Linked DNA regions of Homo sapiens: region 1 is linked to region 2. Evidence: promoter capture Hi-C in human tissues and cell types (Jung and others, 2019). All regions are on one chromosome and are shown on one strand. Each heading gives the region's core, a stretch centred on a gene start or on the middle of the fragment in contact. The rest is flanking DNA. Distances are from core to core; before and after follow the strand shown.

Evidence for each region. The method cuts DNA at HindIII sites, captures the fragments that hold promoters and counts their contacts. A contact is called where the count stands out against the background at its distance.
Region 1: a contact is called between a fragment that was not itself captured here and the fragment with the promoter of ARHGEF12 in region 2, in 1 of the 25 tissues and cell types used here (lymphoblastoid cells).

The regions. Positions count from the first base shown.
Region 1 is chr11:120,912,673-120,920,117 of GRCh38, forward strand. All of the region lies in intron 13 of GRIK4 (glutamate ionotropic receptor kainate type subunit 4), which reads left to right. Among named protein-coding and RNA genes, the nearest start is that of TBCEL, 110 kb to the right of the region's middle. The HindIII fragment of the contact is 5,965 bases long and covers 1,003-6,967 here.
Region 2 is chr11:120,330,822-120,337,830 of GRCh38, forward strand. ARHGEF12 (Rho guanine nucleotide exchange factor 12) reads left to right here and starts at 5,592. Exons shown (of 41, transcript NM_015313.3): 1 at 5,592-6,454. The coding sequence starts at 6,423. It overlaps TLCD5 (TLC domain containing 5), which reads left to right. Exons shown (of 3, transcript NM_001198671.2): 3 at 1-2,865. RefSeq lists a silencer at 5,179-6,048. The HindIII fragment of the contact is 7,839 bases long and covers 2,965-7,009 here.

The DNA.
Region 1 (7,445 bases), core at 2,735-5,234, 580 kb after region 2:
AGCTTGTAAGGGAAAGCAAGGTAAAGGGTTGTAGCTAGAGGGAGCTGTGGAGATTGACTGTAAGTCAAGATGAAATCGCTTATGTAAGCAGCTGCTCAGAATTGAGAATGCTTTTCTTATGGATTGGGGAAATGCAGGGACGTTCATGTGGCTGGAGCAATATTGGAATTGGCAGTGTCAGTAAAAGGTAGGCGGGATGGAGGCTGGAGATGATGGAGCATTCAGAAAAGGGTTTTGGAGTTTTTGTCGAGATGCTAGTACTTCTTCCCACAGCTGGTATCTGGGAACCAGCACAGTCAGGCAAGTATCTGTCTGGGCATTGTCTTAACCTCTTGACATTTGGGCAGTGACTGAATGTCTATAAACTGCTTTCACAAGCATTAGCTCTTTCATCCTTTACAGCAGCACTGTGAAGTAGGTATTATTATCCCCATTTTAGAGCTAAGCAAACTGAGGTTTCAAAGAACAAAATGAACCACTGCCAGTTAGTGGCAGAGGTCTGGTGAAACTTAGGCACCTGAGACCAAGTCCATGGCAGCACACGGTCTTTCCCTGCAGAAATTACAGCCTCATCTCCCTGCAGCCACAATTGGCATTCACTTCTGAGATGTCCTTCCAGACAGAGGATGTGGAGGGTGCCCAGAATTTGATACCCAAGTTCAACTCTGGCCCATAAAGAGATTGCACTCCATCTGTAAAGTGACAGAACCAGACAGATGACTTCCAAGGCCCCTTCTGCTTGGTAGGGAGGCATTCTTGGTCAAGTACTGAGCTGTAGTACCCTGGAAGGTACAACAGCTGCATTTTCCATCCTCAGGGCCCTGCTTGGGAGAGAGTAAAGCACATTTGGGAAGAGACAGAGTCCCCCTCTAGGTTCACAGTTCAGAACAAAGTACCCCGTTGGCATTCAACTCCATGTTGGCGGAATGGCACATTTAAGTTCAAAGAGAAAAGGGCTTTGGAAGGCTTAGATTCAAGGCTCATAAGCCTTGGACATCAAATAGCTCTTACCAATGACATTTTGATGAATTAAGTGTAAATGAAGCTGAAACGCCTCATTCCATTTTTTCTCCTGGGTGCCCAGGAGAAAGGATTGTGGAGGGAGCTTCCCAGAGGCCTGGTGGGTCAGGCTGTTCGTGGCCTCAATTCACTGGGAAGGTTGTCCGGAGACATTTTGCTGAACTAAAAAAAAAAAAAAAAAATACAAGTGGTCCCCTGAGATTACTTTTCACCTTGAAGCCAGAGACTATTTTAACTACAAATAGGTCACAGAATTCTATTCAGCATTCTTTAAAATAAAGATACTGATCCAGGGGCCAAAGTGGAGTGTTCCACTCCTTCCCCGTGTGACAGCCGAGCTCAGCGAGGGCTTTGCTTTACCTTCCCCATTAAGGCTTAGTTTCTGCATTTATGCAAATCTGAAAGAGATGAGCTTCTGTTATAATTCAACCATTCATTCATTCATCAAAGTGCGTGCTGTCTGACAAGCACCGCTTGGATATGAGGAATTGCCTGTAAGGAGTTCAGGATCTACTCAAAGAGACGGACAGGTAAACCAAGAATTACTGTACAGTGTGACACATGCTATATTAATAATAGTTATAATGATGGTAATAACAGCAGCTGACAGGTATGAAGTGCTTCCTATGGGCCAGGCACTGTTCTGAGCACTTGACTGTATTAACTCAAGCCTCACAATAACTGAATGTGGCAGGTGAGGTGGCAAAACAGTTAAGGAACCTGCTCAAAGTCCCATGAGTAGTGAGTGGCAGGGGTGGCTTTGACAGAAGTTGAGCGAGGTGTGGTACAGGAGTAGGGAAGAGCTCACCAAGGAAATGACGAGTGAGCAGAGCACTGAGGATCAAGAAGGATCGCCTTGGCAGAAAAGGATATTATATTCTAGGTGAGGTGGACGGTGAGAAATGTACACTGCAGTGCCGTTGGTTCTGGACAACTGGAGCCAAGCATGAGAGGGGGTGGAGGAGAACAGGGCTGTAGGCAGGGGCCAGTCGTGATAGGGTTTATGTGTTTGGATCTTTATAAACTATGTCCAGAGCGCTAGTGGGAGCTGTCTAAGAGCAGGTGGTTTGTTTGTTTTATTCAAAGAGGGGAGTGGCATAATTGCCTTTGGTTCCAGAAGGTTACTCTAGCAGATGAGAGGGGGACGGATTGGAGGTGGGAAGACCAGATGCAGGTTTACTCATTAGACAGCTGTCCAGTGATCAGGAGAATGGAATGGGGTCTGAATTAAGCAGTGACTGTGAGGATGCCCAAGAGAGGATTATGGCTGTGTGGGGACTTCAGCATTTGAGTCTGGGACCCAGTGAGTGCAGGGAGCTCCCCTTTCCTGTAGACCTTCAAGCATGGGTTAAGGTCGTCCTGCTTCTCAGGGGAGAAGGGATTGGCTGTTTGACCCTGGGAAGGTCCTTTCTACAATGGCTCCTTGAGAGATGCATGCCACATAGCGATCCCTGCATGCAACCCACTGAGACCTGGGAAGGGAGGAAATCCATCTTCTCCAGCTCATTATTCACAGACAGGTGTACTTGAAAATAAAGGGGCCAGCGCGCTGGACTGCACCTTAGCCACAAACATGTTCATGCACTCTCTCCACAACACTCTGCTTCATTGTGAGTTCCCAAAAGGTTCTTTTCTGTCAGTAGGAGTCCTTTCACTCACCTGAGAAAAGGGCAATAATGGCAGTTTCGTGACTGCAGCCGCCCTTTTTTTCTTCTGAGATGTCTGTATCGGCTGCCAGGCTGCGGCTGGGCTCTCCCATCTCATCTCCCTCTCTCCCTCTGATGGCCTCCCTCTCCTCCATTCAGGAGTGAGGTGCGCACACCCCAGAAGATTGCCGCTGGGCCTCTGGAGCCGCAGCTGCCAACCGTGCGAGCCCAGCCAATGCCCTACCTGCGCTCGGTGGAGGGCTCTGCTGTGGCTTTCTGATTTGCCCTGTCCTCTGGCTTCCCTTGGCTTATAGGGGGTCTGAATGGGGATCTCATGTGCTCCAGACCCTTGCTCACATGTCTTCCTAGTTCAAAGCCGAGCCACCAGGAGGGAAGGGAGTAGAAGCAGGGTGCTATAACTCCTGACAAGGCCAGACACCATGTAGAAGCTCTACACTCATGAGTTAATTTGATCCTTACATGACCCATGAGACAGGAATTATTACTCTGTTCCACAGATGAGGGCACAGAGGCTTGGAGAGTTCCATAATTAATCCAAGCTCAGACACACAGCAAGTGGCCAGAGCCCAGACTCAGACCCCAATCTTGGGCTCTTCTCACTGCACCAAAGGGGCATGTGAGAACTGGTGTCTGGAACAAAGGATGACTTGGGTGGCATCGTCTTGTTCTCTGCATCAGCCTCCTAGAAGAATGAGGAGGAAGGAATAAGTTGGCCCAGGAGAATGGTAAACAAGGAGGTGGCTCTGAGTGGCCAGTTTGACAGGGACATTTGGCTGACACTTCTGTCCTCAACCCTCTTATCTGGAAACTGGACTTCTTATGACCACCTCGTTTTTCAGACTAAGAAAACAGAGCCCCAAGAAGCTAACGCCCAGGAGTGCTAGGAGTTGAAGTCAGGTCCTTTTCCTCTAGGAGCCTTTCAGCTAAAAAGGCAGACAGATGCGAGCAGAAGTTATTTTAATGAGGTCATACAGGATAAGTGCTGTATTAGACATAGCAAAGTACATCGTAAATGACTAGGAAGGTAGGGGCAGAAATGACTTCTGAATCGGGACAACCAGGATGGATTCCTAGTGGAAGTAAGACTGGCAACTCTTTGAAGGAAAGTACAATGTCTTATGCATCTTGACATCCTTATGCACCTAACACAGTGCCTGAAACACGGTGAAGTGGTAACATAGGTAATACTAGGAATCTCTAGTCTGAAAATCCAAAATCTGAAATGCTCCAATGTCTGAAACTTGTTGAGCTTCGATGTGATACCGCAAGTGGAAAATTCCACACCTATCCTCATGAAGGGTCGTAGTCAAAAACAGTCAAAACTTTGTTTCATGAACAAAATTATTTAAAATATTGTATGAAATTACCTTCAGGCTACGTGTCTAAGGTGTCTATGAAACAGAAATGAACTTCGTGTTTAGACTTGAGTCTCATTCCCAAGATACCTCATTATGTTTATGAAAATATTCCAAAATCTGAAAAAGTCGGAAATTCGAAACACTTCTGGTCTCAAGCATTTCAGATAAGGGGCGCTTGCATTCCCCTAGGGAGTGCTTCCTTCAGCAGGTTTGCATCAACCCAAGGCTTAGAAAGCCAGGCTTTCCGGCCAGGTGTGGTGGCTCACGCCTGTAATCCCAGCACTTTGGGAGGCCGAGGCGAGCGGATCACCTGAGGTCAGGAGTTCGAGACCAGACTGGCCAACATGGAGAAACCTCGTCTCTGATAAAAAATACAAAAATTAGCTGGGCATGGTGGCGCATGCCTCTAATCCCAGCTACTCAGGAGGCTGAGGCAGGAGAATTGCTTGAACCCGGGAGGCGGAGGTTGCCGTGAGCTGAGATCATGCCATTGCACTCCAGCCTGGGTAACAAGAGCGAAACTCCGTCTCAAAAAAAAAAAAAAAAAAAAAAAAAGAAAGAAAGAAAGAAAGAAAGAAAAAAGAAAGAAAAGAAAAGAAAGCCAGGCTTTCCATTTATGAATCAATCAGCAGACAGTGATTTAACACCTATGTGCCAGTCACTGTGCTGGGGTGTGGGGTAAAGGAACAGATCAGGTTTGGTTCTGTCTCTGAAAGCTTACAGACCGGGCGGTAAAAGGCAAGGGGGGCACAGGCATGTAAGATAATAAAGTGTAGGTGTGAGTACATGGCTGGGAGCCCCGAGCAGGGCAGGACTAAGGAATGACATCGGAGCGTCACCCGTGCAGGTGCGCTGCTTAAATCCCTGTCTCTGGGAGAGCAGTCTCCAGGCCCAGAGACAGTCAGCCACAGATTTGAAACAGACTTCAGAATTTTCCCCGCCCATCCTCAGATCCCTGTGCTGGTTATTTTCCATGGAAGGAGTTGCCCGGGGGGATCTGGAAGGGTTTGGAGTTCAGTTAGGTTCAGTGCTCCCTTAGCAGCTTCCTACTGGGAGCTCCTTCAAACCCCATTGGGCATCTCAAAGCAGCCTGGGAAACTTATCAGTTCTTGGGAATTATTTCCACCTTCCCCACTGAGCGCCAGCTGTTAAGGGGAGTGAAGGGTCTGCAAAGGAAATGAAAATGTATTAATTAAGGCATCTGAAAGCCTTCTAAGAGATCAGCTTGCTGCTAAGCAGAAGAGACAGGTGGTAGGGAATTGATTTGGGTCAGAGACAGGAAAGGAAGCTACAGACAATGTGATCTTAATGTCTTCTAAGAATTCTCTAGTCTCGATTCCCCAGCCACACAGCAGAGATGAGGATGTTACCTGTGGGCTTGGCCAGACACCAGACTCTGGTCTGAGACCAGGGAGGCTTTCAGGAGCTCCAGTTCAGCACGCAGGGACCAAGCCTCCTCTGCCTTGCTCTCCTTCCCACCCAGACTGAGAAATCCAGCTTCTGATGATTCCCCAAGCCTAAGTCTCTGAGCTTGCCAAACTGGTTCTCTCACTCCCCTTCCCCTCAGGAGTAAGAATCCTATTCCTGAACCCGGGGTGACAACCCTATTGACCCATTCTGATGTACTTACCATCCTCAGCCAGTGGTGCCTGCCTCTAGATGCATTGATTCCATATTGGTTGTGCCTTCAGCTTTTACTTTCATAGAGTTCACACAGTTTTTACTTTCATAGAGTTCACATCCTGTATACATAGGACCTCCATGTATGGTTTGTGCAGGTTAAGACATGGTGAAGGAGGAATGGGGTGTGAAACCCAGCCCTCACTCTGCTCACCAAACACGTGCTCTGGGATGGGGGGGTATCTACTTGTCGATTTTTTTCCTACAAAAATGCCTTTAGCTTGCCAAGGCATGTGCCCACTAAGTCTGCTCAGAGGGCCAATCTTTATAATTCATACAACGTCCCCAACTGTACTGGGAATGAGACCCGGTGTATAAGTTAGTTTGAGACGTTAGCATGTGATATATACAAAAGGGAATCCTACGCAAAATGGTATGGGAGCACAGAGAAGGAGGGAAGCATTTCAGCCGGAGGAAGCCAGGCAAGGCTTCAGAGCAGAGCTAATGAGAATTGTCGCCAGTGTTTATTGAATACCTACTACCTGCCAGGCATTTATCATGCATCATTTCCTCTCCACATAACAATCTTACGTGATAAATATTATTATTCATATTTCATAACCAAGATGCCAAGGTTGACTTTGGCTTAACAGAGAAGGCCAAATCAGGGTCACACAGCTAACAAGTGATTGATCTGGAATTCAAAGCCAAACCTGTCTGACATCAAAGCCCACGGTCATTCTAACCACTGCAATGCCTCTCAGGGAAGTGCCGTCAAGTCAGACCTTGATAGACAAGTAGGAATTTGACAGGCGACAAGGAGGAGAGAGTTGCCGGCAGAGGGAACGGTGTGAGGTCTGAAATGTATGCCAAGTTTAAGGAACATGAAGAGTGCATTGTGTCCACATCGCAGGCTGAAGAGAGGTCAGCAGCTTAAGGTGATGCTGAAGAGGCAAGCCTCAGCTGGGTGGTGACAATCACTTAGACCATGGGAAGGAGCTGGGACTCCATTTTAAAGAGAGTGGAGAGTAACTGGAGTTTTTAAAGAAGATGAGTAATATTAGATCTTTGGTGTAAACTTTAGAGCAGCGGTTCTCAAAGTATTGTCCTTGAACGAGTAGCATCAGCAACACCTGGGACTTGTCAGAATCCCAATTCTGGGGCCCCATCTAGACCTACTTAACCTGAAACTCTGGGGTGGGACTCAACAATTTGCAACTTAACAGGCCCTCCAGGTGGTGCTGATTCGAGCTTAGGTTTGAGAACCACTGATTCCCAATGCTGCTTGAGTCTCAGCTGAGTGGATGGATGGCGTGGGAAAGAACTGGAAGCAAAGAGACCAGTGCAGAAGCTACTGAATAATTCAAAGGAAGGCTTTAATGATGGTAGGGGCAGTGAGAGTCAAGTGGTGGTGATGGATTCAACAGGCGTTTCAGAGGTAAAAGGGATGGGGCCTGGTTATTGAATGGGGAGACAACAGGGAAGGGAGGGAGAGGGAAGACTCCAGGCTGATTCATGGTCTCTGGGATGACGGATGGGGAAGTCATTAATGGCACACAGGGAAAGAGTAGCTTTAGACGGCAGAGATAAGGAATTAGACATGGGTATAGGAAGTCAGTAGGTAGGGGGAGTGAGGAAGGCTGGCAAGAGGCAGCACTGGGCCTGAACCCCATTTGGAAGTTGTCAGCATACAGGTGGTAGTAAAATGGGAGGAATGTGCCCACCCCTGTCCTCACACTGCCTTCCATCCCGACTGGACACCTAGGTACAAATCGCTGCT
Region 2 (7,009 bases), core at 4,342-6,841:
TTGATGTTCAGGCAGTTTAGAAAGGAACTCGAAAAAGATTAGTGCTATTTCTTGTTCCTTTGAGAAGTAACTCTTTCAATAAACACTTATTTCTGCTTTCCATATAGCAATTTATCTAAGTTTACCCCATTTACTATAAAGTGAGGGGCTTACAGGAAGAGACACGCCTTTGACATTCTGAACATTAGATCGGGGAATTGGGTCGCTTAAACAGAGGGGCATAGGAGGGTGAGAGTGAAACTGGCAGTGAGGGGGAGGGCTACTTACTGAACCTCCTATACCAACTGTGCCAGAGGTGCCCAAGACCACTGCCAGGTTCTGTAATTCTCTGGGAAGACTCAGTGGACTCAGCATATAGTCTTACTTATAGTTTTGATTTATTATAGTGAAAAGATACAAAGAAAAATCGGTAAAAGGAAAAGGCACCTGAGACAAAGTCTAGGGTAAAGCAAGCACAAGTTTCCAGAGTCCTCTCCCAATGGAATCACACAGGATGCACTTAATTCCCCTAGCAGTGATTTGTTACGACATGTGAATGAGTTGTCTACTGGACAAGGTCACTACAGACTCAGTGCCCAAAGTTTTTACTGAGGACAGGTCATCTAGGCAGGCTTTCCCTGGCAGATAGCAAAATTCAAGACTCTCAAAAGGAAAGCAGGTGTTCAGCATAAGCCATATTGTTTGCACAAGCAGTTCAGACACAGTAAGCCAGTCTTATCAGTTAATTGTGGGAGCCCCTCCAAAATCTAAGTTCCCAAATGCCGGCCAGTGGCCAACCCTGTAATCAGGCCTCTCCAAGGATAGCAGTTTAGGCCTGCTATGTTAACTCTTTTCTGCACAAAACCTATAGAGTTAGGGCTTTGGATCTGAGATGAATGAAGTGTGGGTAGATTTACTGAGTCCTGTTATATGGGTTCTGCCCTACCAGGAAAACTATGCCAGTTCTCAGGGCTTTTGTGCATTAATCTCCTAGGCATTTGAGGCTATGACTAAATTCCATAGGGATTTATCATGTGGATTCCACTGTGCTTGAGATGGCAGTTTAGATTTCAGCTCTGCTGTACATATTGCAAACTAGAGCCAAAGACTTTAAAGTGTGTACTGGCCTCAGGGGGATGAGGTTAATTTTTTTTTTTCATTTTAGATACTTTCCCTTTTAGTACTCCTCCTACTTTTCTTATTTTTACTAAAAAGGTACCACTCTATGAACAAACTAATAAAACAAGGCCAGTCTTGGAAGGAAAAAAATAATAATTCTTAGTGTGACAGTCTCCAAGAGAAGCAAGAATATAAGCTTAGAACAAGGGGTTAAGAATCCAGAATTCCTGGGTTCTTTTAACTAATTTTGCTACTCACTTGCCACTTTGGAGAGCTACTCACTCACTTTGGATAGGTTACTTGTTTCTTCTTTGCCTGAGTTTAAACCTATTGTGAATGAATGAAATACCCTGTAGTATATTTCATAAATACATTATGTGGCATTTTATTAATGGAGGTCTTTAATGTAGGGCTTTTATGGAAATATGAAGTATTTATGTATTTATTGATTATTTATTTTTACCATGTTATTGAAGTCAATGGTGTTTGATTAGCTCAGTGGGTGAGCAAGCATATGGTGCTACTGGAGTCAAGGCTGGTCAGTAGGAAGCATCAGTCCATTCCATGGCCACTGGTAATCTAACGTAATGAATGGTGTCTTTTGTTGTTGTTGTTGTTGTTGTTGTTGTTTGAGACAGAGTCTTGCTCTGTCGCCCAGGCTGGAGTGCAGTGGTGTGATCTCAACTCACTGCAACCTCCGCCTTCTGTGTTCAAGTGATTCTCCTGCCTCAGCCTCCCGAGTAGCTGGGACTACAGGCGTGTGCCACCATGCCTGGCTACTTTTTGTATTTTTAGTAGAGACGGGGTTTCACCATGTTGGCCAGGCTGGTCTTGAACTCCTGACTTCATGACCCACCCGCCTCGGCCTCCCAAAGTGCTGGGATTACAGGTGTGAGCCACCGTGCCCAGCCATGAGCGGTCTTGAAAATGAAAAATGGTCTTGGCCACAGAAACCAGGTATGAGGGAGTGGTTGGAATGGTATAAAGTCATCACTGTTAGGGAAACAGTAACTTTAAATGCATGTTAACAGTGGGTCTTTAAAAATGAATGTCATTTGGTTAAAGAGTTTTGCTGGGCATTGAGATAATCTGACAGCATCTCCACTTCCTGTTTTTTTTCTTAATCTCCACTTTTTTTTTTTCTATGATGAGCGCCCCTAAAATGCTGGTAAGCTTCTTTCCAACAAAATTGCGGTCAAAGTAGGATGCTGGGGAATGCTGATTTTAGCAAAAGCTTGTAGAAAAGAGTGGCCTGGCACATGAGCTTAAAAAAAAGAAAAAAAGCTGGCTCTTGAATTTTGGCACAGTGCAACCTGTTCCATACCAGACAAATGAACAGGCTTAATCTGGTACCAATTCTTTTTCTCTCTTACTCCTCAGAAGTGAAGGGACTGCAGATCTTGTTGTTTTGGGGACACTTTCATGGAACTGTATGTAGGTTTTTTTGAATGGTGAGAAATCTGAATAATTGGTAAGGGGAAGGGAATCCCTCATTTCAGCTTTTCTTGATGTTGTTACTAATAACTATGAAAAAACTTCTGAGAGAACAATGTGAACTGAAGATGACTCAGCAGTTAAGACAATGCTAAGTTCTGAAACCACAGGTAAATGAAGGGCTAATTAATGTGTGGTATACTTGGACAAAATGAAGTACTCATTTGCACTGGATTACTGTGTAATGATAACGAACACTGTTCAAGAACGATTTATATTTCCATAAGATTTGTACTAAATTTTATAAAAGTAAAACAACTTTTTATAAACCCAGAGTCTGTCTTTATATTTATGTGGTGGTTTTGCCAAGAAGTTAAAAAAAGCCTTTTGACCTGTAGAAATGTTGACCTGTATTCATACTTACTAGTGAATATCTCTAATCTGCTGTTCATTATCCATCATTCCCCCTATTTTTTTTTATTTTGGGGGGTAACAGTTGACATACACAAAACAGTTTGCCAAAAGAGAGAGGAAGAACCTTAATGTGTTTCTTGTTCTGCCACCTGTTTGGACACTTGTCTTGAAAATGTTGATGTCAAGTGAGTTGACATCAGAGACATCATCTGAAGACAGCTGGAGGCCCTGTCTTGAGGACTGTACTACCAATGCCTAAAACAGTCTGGGATGCATAGTAGATACTTAGTAAGCATGTTGAAAGAATGGACAAGAGGATGAGAATGTGGTTTAGAATCATCCCCATTGGAAAACCTCCTCAAAGGTTTTCCCAGTGGATTGGGTCATCAATGTCATTTTTCTAAGTAAAGTACTACGGACCCTGAGGAGTGTGTTCTACCCAGACTGGCTTGACTTTCTGAAGGCATCCTATAGTTACAGCCTTTAGAACAGTTGAGCTATCGGCAGCTTTAAAGAGGCTTTCAGTTTTTTTTTTTTTTAAATCATTAATGCTTTGTAGGTGACTATAGAGATTTTCATCATTTAAAAAAATTAGTTCTGGAATGAATAACCACTGGCTTAATTCAATCTTTTGCTTACCATCTTCTGAAGCTTTCCCACAGCAAAATGCCTTCTTTGCTCACAGCTAGAACCGTGGGTCTGTTTAAGTTTGGAAAGATCTTGAAAGCAGCTTGCCAAGAGGTTTTGTATGCAAGGAAGAGAAGGTGAATTAGGAAACTTTCCCAGTTTGTTTTATTCCTGAAGCTTAAGTATTGAGGCTTCCCTCAAGTATTAAGGGAAGAGAGGAACTCCAAAATGCATGATTTGATGAGTCATTGGGTTCAATTAATTTTATACTTACACTGTAACATTATTAGGATAGGGGAAAATAAGATATTTAGTACTTTTAAGAAAGATTTATTAAGTTTGGGGATAAGGTTTGCATTTTGGTCAGTATATATATGTATATATGTGTGTATATATATGTGTATATATATGTATATATATGTGTATATATGTATATATGTGTGTATATGTGTATATGTGTGTGTGTGTGTATATATATATATATATATATATATATATATATATATATGAATGGGATTCCTTCCGGTTGCATGTAAACACTCAATTTAAGAGTCTTCAGGGTAGAATTGTCATGCTAGAATACACCAGCAGGTGGCAATGTGTCCTGGTCTCATCATTAGGGAAGTGCCTTGGCTAATCTGCTTCTATTCTTTCCAAAAATAAACATTACAAAATTAGTTGGCTGTGCCTTGAACCTAAAAAATCGAGCAATAAAGAGTCGTCTCTGGTCTCTGTTTATCTTTTCCTTTTTTTCCCCCCCGTTCTAACTAACGTCAGCGTGAGCTCATGCCTCTATTCGGGGATAATGATCCTTTCATGAACTGTTGCGGAATGACTTTTTGCAACAGCATTGTTAAGAGGTAATTGTTTCCTCTCTCCACATCCACTGTTTATTAGATTTGATTTGCTACTTGGATTCCACAAAATGGCTGAAATCCCTTGTCACCAACATAGGTTTAAGCTCAAAAGTCTGAAAATAGTTGGATAAAGGGAATAGCCACTTTGGATGTTTGCAGGCAGAACTGAAGAACTGTATTACATGTGGTACCTAAATTGCCAAAATACTGAATTATTCAATCATAAAACTAGATGGGTATCTAAAGCTCTCTACCCAGTAGGGGAAAAAACCGAAAAACCGTTTGGGAATCCTTCAGAGAGAACCGTAATGCTATTTACTGGATAAATATACTTCATTTTCTTCTCCCAGTTCTTTCCACAACACGCTTGTTAAGTCGCCATGGAAAGCACCATGCTTTATCAATTTGGCAAATAACACATTTCATTTTGCCAAGGCAGAAACAGCCTAAAAGTAATATTTATACCGAGAAACCCTGGCTGCAGTCCCCAGCTGCTCTCCCGCAGCCCTGCGCCTCCGGCTCATGCAGCGCTCTCCCCCCGGAGCCGGCAGGTGCCCAGGTGAGCGGGGCCTGCGGAGGCAGCGAGGGGCGCCGGCCGGGAACCGGCAGAACGCGTGCAGCCAGAAGACAGGAGAGATAATACATTCCCTTAAGTAATAAAAGTTTCCAGGACAAGGGGGGCTGGTAATTTTCAAAGAGCCTCCCGGCACGATGTCCTCGGGATCTGGGGGGCGCTCTCGGGCGGTCTCTGGTGAAAGTCGACTTAGTACAAACTGGACTCGAAGGGGCATGTCTCGGCACTCAGGGGCCCAGGCGCCGCGGGAGGTGGGTGGGCCTCCCGGGGCTGCACGGGTCCCACCTCCCTCTGCCCCGTAGGACTACTTTGCCGCTCTCCCAAACCGGGCTCCGGCGGAGGCGTCCGTTCAAGGGCGAGAGCGCGGCCCTGAGCGGCGGAGGGATCCCGGGTGAGGCGGCTTCCCGAAGTCAGAGGGGAGGGGGCCATAAAGTCGGCGGGGGACGGGAAGCGCGAGCTCGCGCCGGACGCGGCCAGGGCCGGGAAACCAGAACCGGAACCGGAACCCGCGCGCGCGCCCGCGGTTGCGCGGCCCCCACGGCCGCCGGCCTCCTCCGCTGTCTGCGCGCGCGCCCGCGAGGGCCTCCAGAACCCGGCGAGCCGGCCCTGCGCCGGGAGACGCCGCCGCCTCCGCCTCCCGGACCAGGGCTTCCAGGCCGGGCCGGACGGGCATCTCCCGCCCCTCGCGGGGAGCGTCGGGGAGGAGCCGCCGCCTCTGGCGATTGCGGAAGAGTCCGGGCCTCAAAGGGATGGGGAGCAGTCCGCGGCGCTGAGAGACCCGGGTCCCTGTCACCTCGGGCCGCGGGACCTCTCCGCCGGCGCCAGCGGCTCGTCCCAGCACCGGGAGCCTGGTGAGGGCGGCGAGCACAGAAGGAGCCCCGGGCCCGGGACATGGAATCGCGCGAGCCCGGCGCGGGACGGCCGGAGACGCGGCCAACGCTGCGGCCACGAGCAGCCGGCAGCCCCAGATAGAGAGCCGGGAGGGAGGGCCCCGGCCCTTGCCGCGGCGGGGAGTTCGAGGCCCCGAGACTCCGGAGGAGGAGCCGACACCCGTCCGTGAGCTGATCCCGCCCCAGCCCCGGCGGGAGTCCCGGGTCCCCTTCCCACTGCGCGCGGATTTCCCTCTCTGAGGAAGTTTATCCTTGTGCCTTCTGGAGGATTTCTCTCTAGCTCGACTCACTCTGGACTGACTCGCTCCCTGGCTTTCTCAGTTCGTTTTGGGAGATAACTTGTTTTGCTCCAAGCCGCATCCGTTGACCCCTTACAGTCGGATGGTCTAGATGACTGAATGGAGTTTTGAGTTGGACTTTTGTGTCCCTGACGGAGTTGGGCCTGATCCCAGAGCACTGGGGGTGGGGAGGAGGTGTTACTGTAAAATGCAAGTTGGATAAAAGGAGGACCTCTCGCCAAGGGCCCCAATGAGTGGCACACAGTCTACTATCACCGACAGGTTGGTATGAATTCCTCCTTCGTTCGGCCTCCCGGAATCGGGCCCGACCTAGCAGGGGAGTCGGTGATTGCAGATTGCCTTTGGCCAGCGAAGTTGACAGGCAGAGGAAAGAGGGTTGTTTCGGAGCTGTGCAGTTAGCCTGGGGTTGCTGCCGAGTTATCCAGTTGATTGGCTTTTGGAAATGTAATTTTTCCGGAGAGAAACTTCCCTTCCGATTCTCAGAGAAGGGGGAGGCAAAACCATGATTGTGGTTTTCCGCCTGTAGTGTGCATTAGGATTGTGTACTCGTCTGGAAATCAGAGGAGAAGGTCATTTTAGGTGAAGGTCGGTGCCTGAAGTCGGCTCGGTATTGGTGTATTATTTATCAGCTTTAGCCGTGTCCTGCAGTAGATTCTCAAGACAATTACATTTTAGGAATTTCTACCTGTGAACTTAATGTTGAGCCTACTGCATGGTGATCTGGGAACTTGATCTCTTTCAGATGTTGACCTGCACGGTGTTTAATTATTATCTAATAACTTTCCAGAATGTTGACATTACCAGTAAATCACAGGT